Linked DNA regions of Homo sapiens: regions 1 and 2 are each linked to region 3. The links are contacts of gene promoters, found by promoter capture Hi-C in human tissues and cell types (Jung and others, 2019). All regions are on one chromosome and are shown on one strand. The core of a region is centred on a gene start or on the middle of the fragment in contact, and the rest is flanking DNA. Distances in the headings are between cores, read along the strand shown. Region 1 overlaps DAZAP1 (DAZ associated protein 1). Region 2 holds the start of FSTL3 (follistatin like 3). Region 3 holds the start of POLR2E (RNA polymerase II, I and III subunit E).

Region 1 (3,157 bases), core at 266-2,765, 320 kb after region 3:
GGGCTTTTGGCAGAGGCCAGTCATTCGACAGATGCTTATAGGCTGAGCTTCCAGCTTGGCTCCAGGCGTTGCCAAGGAGAACACTGGTCCGCCTGGGAGGGCGGGGCTGGCAGGGAGAGGATGAGGGTGACCACAGTTAGCACCCAGGATGTGGGCATTCAGGGGCTCCTTCAGCACACAGCAGCGCGTTCCAGTTCACGGACCGCTCCTGTGTTCTGTGGACCCCACACCCTGCAGGCGTGGGCTGGAGGGGGGGCATCTGACCCTGCTGGGGAGAGGGAGTCCAGGCTATGGAGGGGCGGGCTGGGCTCACTGGCCTGAGGCAGTGGGTGAAGTGGTCCTGGTTTCCCACCTGGTCTTAGGGGCAGGAAAGTCCCTAGAGGCTCTTCCTGATGCTCTGGAAGAAGAGAAGGGTTCCCCACACATCAGCCGCCACTGGGCCTGGACTTCTGCCTCTTGAGATTGTGCACGGAGCTGAGTGTGACTGGCGGAGCCCAGAGCCAGGTGGGGTCTGTGGGGAGGCAGGCTCCTCCTGGCTTGGTCCCCCGGCCCAGCAGGAAGGGAAAGGTCGCCTGCCAACTGCCCCCATTGAGGCTGCTGGCCCCGAATGGCCGGGCTGGCCGCCGGTTTTTGAAGCCCACTCTGGTGCTGCCAGGAGGTCAGGGCTCTTTGTGGTCAGCCTAGGCCAGAGGAAGCCTCTGCAGATGGACTTTACGCATAAATACCGCACAGGCACCCGAATGGCACGCAGCAAGCGAGGTTGCCATCCAAAACGGCTTTTGCTTTAACAGGCAGAAGAGGGTGGCTGCGCCGGCCACCGTGGATTGAGCACCTGCCAGGTGTCGAGCTGCAGGCCCTGGGTGCCAGGCTTGCAGATCCTGGGAGATGTTCATCATGACCTTTGATGGGCAGACTGCACGCTGGACTCCAGGTTGCAAGGGAAGAAGTGGAGCTCGTCCCACGCCTCCCCCACTAATGAGAACACCCCTTTTGGGTTTGTGGGGTGTGAGGTCTGTAGGAGCCACGACTTCCAGTGTCGGAGATGCCGTCAGCTGGGTGATGACTCTCCCACCCAGCGGGCCCCTCAGAGGCAGGGTGCAGGAGCCACATTGCTCACCGACCCCTTCATCTGCGTAGGCCAGTGTTGCCTTGCCCCGTTAACGTCCTCAGTCCACACGCCGCCAGCCAAGGTGCAGGCTGAGCAAGCCTGGAGCTGAGGACAAGCGGACCGCCAGCCCCGTAGCAAGCCCACGAGAGCCAGCAGCTCCTCCTTTTGGCCTCTGCCCGCGCCCGGCTTCCTGGACTCCGACGTTTACTTGTGTGAGAGTTGGTTCTGCTGCCTGGGCAGTTGATGGACAGTGTCTGGGAGGTGCCTGCCCAGGGCTCCGCATGTTTCTGATGTGCCGGCTTCTCACTCACGACCTGGTGAGGTTGGCAGCCAGGAGCTTTCTTATTTTATTGATTAAAACATCCTGAGATTCAGAAGTAGGGACTTTGTGCCAGGGCCCTGGAGGCAGTCCCTGCCACTGAAGAGATGACCCTGCTTTCCGGGACTTCCCGGAGGCTTCTGTCTGTAGACCAGGGAGAAGGTGTTCGCCGGTGGCTCCTGAGTGGTAGTAAAAGACACATGGACACAGGAAGCTTTAGCGTTAGAAGCTGCTCTCAAATATCTCAACAGAAACACACAGTGTGGCCGCGCGCGGTGCCTCACGCCTGTCATCCTAGCACTTTGGGAGGCCGAGGCGGGCGGGTCACCTGCGGTGGGGAGCTCCAGACACAGCTATGTGAAACGAAAGCTATCTGTTGCTGTCTCAGATTCCATAAGGACTGAGACTTGTTTCAAAAGAAACTGAAATTCTGTCTTGTTCTCAGTAATGAAAGTCTTTTATACCATAATTGTATATATAACTTCTGACTTACAGGAAAATTACAAAAATTCCCATATCCTCTTGGCCCTGCCAGACTCACCATTGGCTGACATTTTACCCTTTGGCACGTGGTGCCTCTTGCCCCACCCCCAGTGAACTGTGTGTGTGTGTGTGTGTGTGTGTGTGTGTGTGTGTGTGTGTTTAGATGGACCCTCACTCTGTCGCCCAGGCTGGAGTGCAGTGGCTTGATCTTGGCTCAGTGCAACCTCCGCCTCCCGGGTTCAAGCAGTACACCTCGAGCTCAGCCTCCCGAGTGGCTAGGATTACAGGTGCGCACCACCGAGCCCAGCTAATTTTTGTATTTTTAGTAGAGATGGGGTTTTGCCATGTTGGCCAGGCTGGTCTCGAACTCCTGACCTCAGGTGATCCGCCCACCTCAGCCTTGCAAAGTGCTGGGATTACAGGCGTGAGCCAGTGCACCCATCCCCACTGTGTGTGTTTCTACTGAAATATTTGAGAGTAGCTGGAGACCGATGCAGTCCCCTTTATGTGTACACTGAGATATCTATTGTTTCCCAAGAACAATGACATTCTCTCACATGAACACAGCACAGTGATCAAAATTGAGAAAGTGGCCGGGCGCAGCTACTCACGCCTGTCATCCCAGCACTTTGAGAGGCCGAGGCTGGTGGATCACGAGGTCAAGAGATTGAGACCATCCTGGCCAATATGGTGAAACCCCGTCTCTACTAAAAATACAAAAATTAGCTGGCGGGCGCCTGTAGTCCCAGCTACTCGGGAGGCTGAGGCAGGAGAATCGCTTGAACCCGGGAGGCGGAGGTTGCAGTGAGCTGAGATCGCGCCACTACACTCCAGCCTGGGCAACACAGCGAGACAATTTTTCAAAAAAAAATTGAGAAAGTATTTATTATTTTTTAAAATTGTATTTGAGTATTTTTTATTTTTTTAATTTTATTTAAGAGTATTTTTTATTTTTTTTTTAATTTTATTTAAGAGATGAGATCTCTGTCACCCCTGCTGGAGTGCAGTGACACAATCACGGCTCACTGCAGCCTCGACCTTGACTCAAACGATCCTTCTGCCTCAGCCTCCCAAGTAGCTGGGACTACAGGTGCCTGCCACCACCTGGAGTCTCGTTACGTTGCCCAGGCTGGTCTTGAACTCCTGGCCTCCCGTAATGCTGTGATTATAGGCGTGATCTGCGCCCAGCTGAGAAAGACAGTACTGATACCAGGTTATCTAACCCCCCCGGCCCTGTTTCAGGTTTC
Region 2 (3,135 bases), core at 294-2,793, 420 kb before region 3:
CCCAAGCCGGGGAGATTCCCGGGGGAAATGCCAGAGGCCAAGGCCAGGTCAAGACGGCGGGGTGTCCCCCCTCAGTGCCACTAAGGCAGAACTTGGCCCCTGGCCACTGGCTGCTGGGGGACACAGGCTGGGCAGCTAAGGTGGAGGAAAGGGTACAGGTGTGTCTTCTGTGGGCACAGATCTCACTCAGGCCAGAGAAGGGGCTGTGCCGTGGGGCTGCTGGACACGTCCGTTTCCACCTGCGGGGTGGGCAATGCCGGCACAGCGAGTGGCCAGACACAGGCATGCCCAGCAGACACCCAACCGCTCTCCACCACCTCAACCTTCTGTATTTTCCTGAAAGCATTTACCACTCCTTGAAGTTATAGATTAATTTGTCTCTGCATTTTGTTGTCCAAACCAGGAGCTCGGTGAGGGTGTGATGGGGTCTGCCTTGGTCACCGTGGCACCCCAGCACCCCGCAGGGTCCCTCTGGCCAAAAGAGATGTTCACTGATGCCCTAGAAGCAGGAACAGAGGGGCTCCCCTGCGCTCGCCAAGGGCGCCTGACAAATCTGGAGGCCCCCATGACAGAATCAGCTCCAGAGTAGGAAATGTGTCTGGCTGCACGAAAGCCCCCTCGGGCGCAGCGCCTCCAGGCCCACGCAGATGTCGCTGTCATACATTGTTGGAAACGCCTCTGCTGGAAACAGTGTTTGCTGAATCTTGGAGGGAGAGGAAAAAACCTAGTAAACATTCTTGTTGAGGTGATCTGGGGGAATGTCTGCAAAGGCTTGGAGGGCTGATGGGGCAGAGCTGCCCAGGGGCCCAGGACAAAGGCCAGGCGTGCGCGCGCACACACACACACACACACACACACACACGCAGTGGCCTCCCTGGGGGCCGTGGCTGGGCGAGGCCTGCTGTTGTCCGAGATGCTGGAAGGAGCTGTGTCTCTGGGTCTGTCCCGGCCGCACCCCGTTCTGTCCCACACCCAACCACTCCCCACCCACAGGCCGGCTCCAGCGGCCAGGTGGACGGGTGCGCGGCCCGCGCTGTGAGCAGGGAACCATATCCAGCTGAGGTTTTGGGTGTGTGGGGCGGGTCGGGAACAAGGAGGCCGGGTTGGGGGGCTCAGACCACACTTGGACCATGAAAGTGACCACATGCAAATCACAGAAACGGGATGCAGGGATCCACAGACGTGCTCCTCTTGGGTCCCCGTTACCTCACCGCCACCCCTGAAACTGAAGACCCCCAAACCCACTTTAATTCCTGGAGACGGCCCCTCGATCCACCCAAAAGGCTGCCACCACCTCGAACCCACACCCCTGTCCCGGTTCCGCCCTGGGTCCAGCCACATCTCCCCAAATGCATTCTCTGGCTCCGGAAGGGGACCCGGGCGCTCGCCCCCAACTGCCCCCCGCAGCGGCCGGGCCCGGCGCCTGCCCACCCCGCGCGGGACACGGCCTCGCCCCCGCCACTCCCGCGCCGCGCCCCGCCCCGCGCCCCGCCCCGCCCGCGGCCCGCGGGACCTTTATAGGGAGCGCCGGCCGCGCGCTGGGAAGTCGGTGCCGCTGCCGTCTCTGCGTTCGCCATGCGTCCCGGGGCGCCAGGGCCACTCTGGCCTCTGCCCTGGGGGGCCCTGGCTTGGGCCGTGGGCTTCGTGAGCTCCATGGGCTCGGGGAACCCCGCGCCCGGTGAGTGGGGCGGCCAGAGGGGCGGGCGGGGCGGGCCACCCACGTGGGGCTGCGCGGAATGCGGCCGGGGGGACGTCGGGGGGCGCGGCGGCGGCGGCGGGGGCGAGGGCGGTGTCCGGCGCAAGCTGGAGCCGGGAAGGTCTGAAGGAGGGTCACCAAGAGGTCAGCAGAGCAGAGGTTTCTAATCACAATGACCGCTGACATTTATTGAGCGCTTAGTGTCTACCTCTCCCCTCCCTGAACCTGTGCCATCCCGATAGTGCCGGAGCTCTCTTCATCTCCGTCTTCCAGATGGGGAAACTGAGGCTCAGGGTCACACAGCCTGTAGCAGGCAAAGCCAGGGTTCTAGCCGCGACCGTCCGGGTCGGTCCTGGTGCCGAGAGGTAGTGCTGGGTGTCGGGAGCCAGGCCCTCCAGCTGGGGCTGAGAGCTTTCCCGGGTCCTGGGTAGACGGGGCATGGAGTCTCACACCTGGGACTTGCCGGGAGGTGCCAGGCAGGAGACGGCCCCACTCCTGGCCTCAGTTTCCCCTCCTATGATGGGTGCCAAGGTGCTGCGTTCCACAAGCTGGTCCCTGGCAGTGTCTGTGAACCAGCAAGCGCTCTGGGATGGGGGCTGTGGCCGTTCCTGCCCCCAGGGACGGGGGAAGAAATGGGGGGCTCTCTGGCTCCCCACCCCCCATCCCTGCAGCCCCACCCCACCCCAGCCCTGCGCCAAAGGGAGAGCAGAGCCCCCTCCCCGAAGGCCACGTCCCTGGGGAGACAGTGAGCTCATGCAAGGGGAATGTTCCCAAGTTGGAGTGAGTAAGAGGCGGGCCAGGCGGTGGGGGGGCTGCCAGGCGCGGGGCTCCGCGTGCCCTCGCCCTCGGGTGCTGTCTAGACAGAGGGCAGAGGCGGGAGAAGCGGCTCCAGGGCCTGCTGACCCTGACATGCCCAGTGCCTGGTGTTTGGTGGTGTTTGAGGGGTTGGGCAGGGTGCCAGCCCCTGGCCTGGGGGCTTGGAGGGTACGGGAAGGGACCTCCTGGGGTGGGTGGGGGTTGGTGGTGAGGCTGTGGGGGGGGGCACGTGGAGCTCAGAGGGGAGGAGACATTTCCAGGGTTCTGGAGCCAGGGTGGGGACACCCATGTGGTTTTCTGCCCCTTCTTCCTGGGTGGGGGTAGATCATTCCGTGCGTAACTACTCAGCACCACCTGCATGCATCTGTGGGCGGGCCAGAAGCTGGGTGTCAGGAGTGGCCCAGGAGAGCACCCCGTTCCCCGGCCCGCAGGTGGTGTTTGCTGGCTCCAGCAGGGCCAGGAGGCCACCTGCAGCCTGGTGCTCCAGACTGATGTCACCCGGGCCGAGTGCTGTGCCTCCGGCAACATTGACACCGCCTGGTCCAACCTCACCCACCCGGGGAACAAGATCAACCTCCTCGGCTTCTTGGGCCTTGTCCACTGCCTTCCCTGCAAAGGTGAGA
Region 3 (3,124 bases), core at 1-2,500:
CGGCCAAAGCTCGTGACCCGGAAGTCAGACCTGCGGCTGCTGCAGAGGACAGAGGTGAACAGCAAACGGGATGAACACTCACTGTGTGCTCCATGACAGCCACCCCGGCCCCCACAGCCTCACACCACAGGATGGGACCAGTATGATCCTGAGAGGCTCCCAGAGATGTCCAGCCTTGACCAAGACCGTCTGTCCACCCAGCCTCACAGAAACCTGGCAGGGAGCAAAGCCCTCCAAACCACTTTGCAGAGCTACCCTAAAGGCAGGGACAAAGGCGGGGCGCGGAGGCTCACGCCCGTGATCCCAGTACTTAGGGAGGCTGAGGCAGGAGGGTTGCTGGAGGCCAGTTCAAGGATGCAGTGAGCTATGATTGCACCACTGCACTGCAGCCTGGGCGACAGAATGAAACCCTATCTCTTAAAAAAAAAAAATGACAGGGACCGAAACAGATGTGACTTCAGGCTGACAATGTTTGAGGATCGGAGAAAGAAGAATCAGGCTGCGGGGGGCTTCGCTGAGGACAAGGGCAAAGGGTGGGAAGCAAGACAAAGCAAAAGCTCTCAAACGGCCCCAATGGCTGAGGCAATACCCTGAACCGCAGGTCCTCAGGCCTGTGCCCGGCTTCCAAACCGGACTCGACCCAGTGGCCTCCATCTGCCCCAGACCCCAAGGCACGGGTTCCGAGCTCCACGTCCCCATCGAAAGCCCCAGCTCGCCCGCTGCTTCCCAACCACCAACTCTGCCAGCCTCGGATGCTGAAGACTCCATGGGGTTCAGGACGCAAGGACAAATAGCGACGCTGAATCACAGAGAAGGGCAGAGTCTGGGGGCGCCCCCCGTCCCCATTCGCGGCTTCCTCCTCCTCTCGCCGCCACGCGCGCCGCACCAGCCCAAGCCGCCCACCCACCCCTAAGCACCGCACCCAGACGTCTCGAAACCCCCTCCCTTCCCCGCTGCCGGCTCAGGTCGGGTCCAGCGCCTGGTATCCCCGGCGACCTCTGGGCCTCCCGTATCGGCCCGGCCCTTCATCGCTGCTGCTCCGACGAGAGTACGAGGAGACGCCGTGCTCGACCCCACCTCGGGCCCCTACACCCGCCGCCCGCGCCCCCGCCCCCAACACCAGGCGCGGCTCACCTGCATGATGGTCTTGCGGATTTTCCAGAGCCGGTACGTCTCCTCCTCGTCGTCCATGGCAGCCTCCGCCGCCGCCGCCGCTCGCACCCCTTCTCCGCGCGAGAACCCGCGCGGACTGCGCCTGCGCCGAATCCGAATCAGGCCCCCTCCGCCTAACCCCGCCCCGCGCTGGTCTGTCGTCGGCGAATGCCTGAATGCAGCAACGTCTCGGATCGGCAGCGCCAAGGGCAGCCCGAGCCTTACGAGAGCGGCAGTTGGCTGAGCGAGTCTCTCGCCTCCGTAGTTCTCGTGTGTCTTTGGCCGCACAGCCTCTCGGGAGTTGTAGTTTCCGTTCAACTCCCACCTTGGAGCAACAGTTTAGAATCCCACGAGGCGGGGGCGAAGTGTGAGCGGGGAAACTGAGGCCTGGATGGGGTCAAGGGGCAGCTCGGCTCCTAGGGATGGTCTGGGAGCCTAGTGGGAACTCTATAAATATTTGTGCATCAAACTGTACAGGGTTTCCTCCATTGGCTCCTGGCCAGGTCAGGGTTAATTCCCTTGGGCCTCAGTTTCCCTACCTGTGCAATGGCAATAAAGTGTCCCTACTTTAGACGGTTAACTGAGAGTCTTAGGCATCTCTCTAGGTGCTTATTAAGTCCCCTCACCTCTGTCCTCTCCCCTGAGCGCCACCAGCCTAGCCTGGGTATCTCCCCAGCCTAGCCTGGGTATCTCCCCACCCCAGACTCTTCCTGTCTTTGCAAACCTCCTCACTTCCCCAGGTTCACGGAGAACCCCAGCCCAACACTTCCTGTGTGCAGGCTATCAGTAACTTATTCAGTGATGCATTCGTTAATTCAACATTTACTCAGCAACCTACAGTGATGGTGAATAAAACAGGCCAAGTATCCCTTGCATTCAGATAAAGACAGGATTTAGTAAAATATAATAAATAACGTGGCCGGGCGCGGTGGCTCATGCCTATAATCCCAGCACTTTGGGAGGCTGAGGCGGGCAGAGCATGAGATCAGGAGTTCAAGACCATCCTGGCTAACACGGTGAAACCCCGTCTCTACTAAAAATACAAAAAATTAGCTGGGCCAGGTGGCAGGTGCCTGTAGTCTCAGCTACTTAGGAGGCTAAGGCAGGAGAATCTCGTGAACCTGTAAGGTGGAGGTTTCAGTGAGCCAAGATCGTGCCACTGCACTCCAGCCTGGACAACAGAGCAAGACTCTGTCTCAAAAATAAAATGAAATGAAATAAAATAAAATAAATAACAACGTTAGAAAGTGACAAAGCTACGGAAGAAGAAAGAGCAGGGAGGCTAAGTGACATGGGGAGAATGGGAGAACTGCAGTATCACATGGGGAGGTCAGGGAATACAGTGAGGATAGATTCAAGCAAAAATCCCATTAGCAGTGGTGGCTCATCACTGTAATCCCAGCACTTTGGGTGGCCGAGGCAGGCAGAGCATGAGATCAGGAGTTCCAGACCAGCTTGGCCAACATGGTGAAACCCTGTCTCTACTAAAAATACAAAAATTAGCCAGGTTTGGTGGTGGGTGCCTGTACTCCCAGTTACTCGGGAGGCTGAGGCAGGAGAATCACTTGAACCCGGGAGGCGGAGGTTGCAGTGAGCCGAGATCGCACCACTGCACTCCAGCCTGGGTGACAGAGCAAGACTCCATCGAGAAAAAAAAAAAAAAATCCCATTGGGCGCGATAGCTCACACCTGTAATCCCAGCACTTTGGGAAGCTGAGAGGGGAGGATCCCTTTGTTGTAGTTTTGTAATTTTTAGTTGTAAGTCACGGACTTTTTTACACTGATATTTGAGATTCTTTTTGGGGGGCTGTCAGGGGCTACTTTTTTTTTTTTTCCTGACACGGAATCTCGCTCTGTCCCCCAGGCTGGAGTGCAGTGGCAGGATCTCGGCTCACTGCAAGCTCCACCTCCCGGGTTCACGCCATTCTTCTGCCTCAGCCTCCCGAGTAGCTGGGACTACAGGCACCTGCCA

Evidence for each region. Contacts are between HindIII fragments. The study calls those that stand out against the background at their distance.
Region 1: a fragment that was not itself captured here is called in contact with the fragment with the promoter of POLR2E in region 3 in 1 of the 25 tissues and cell types used here (spleen).
Region 2: a contact is called between the fragment with the promoter of FSTL3 here and the fragment with the promoter of POLR2E in region 3, in 2 of the 25 tissues and cell types used here (dorsolateral prefrontal cortex and lymphoblastoid cells).

Annotation. Positions count from the first base shown.
Region 1 is chr19:1,411,964-1,415,120 of GRCh38, forward strand. All of the region lies in intron 1 of DAZAP1 (DAZ associated protein 1), which reads left to right. Among named protein-coding and RNA genes, the nearest start is that of DAZAP1, 6.0 kb to the left of the region's middle. The HindIII fragment of the contact is 3,172 bases long and covers 1-3,101 here.
Region 2 is chr19:674,849-677,983 of GRCh38, forward strand. It overlaps FSTL3 (follistatin like 3), which reads left to right and starts at 1,544. Exons shown (of 5, transcript NM_005860.3): 1 at 1,544-1,678; 2 at 2,944-3,129. The coding sequence starts at 1,576. The HindIII fragment of the contact is 14,894 bases long and covers 1-3,135 here.
Region 3 is chr19:1,094,125-1,097,248 of GRCh38, forward strand. POLR2E (RNA polymerase II, I and III subunit E) reads right to left here and starts at 1,251. Exons shown (of 8, transcript NM_002695.5): 1 at 1,135-1,251. The coding sequence starts at 1,191. RefSeq lists enhancers at 1-437, 1,195-1,284. The HindIII fragment of the contact is 36,385 bases long and covers 1-3,124 here.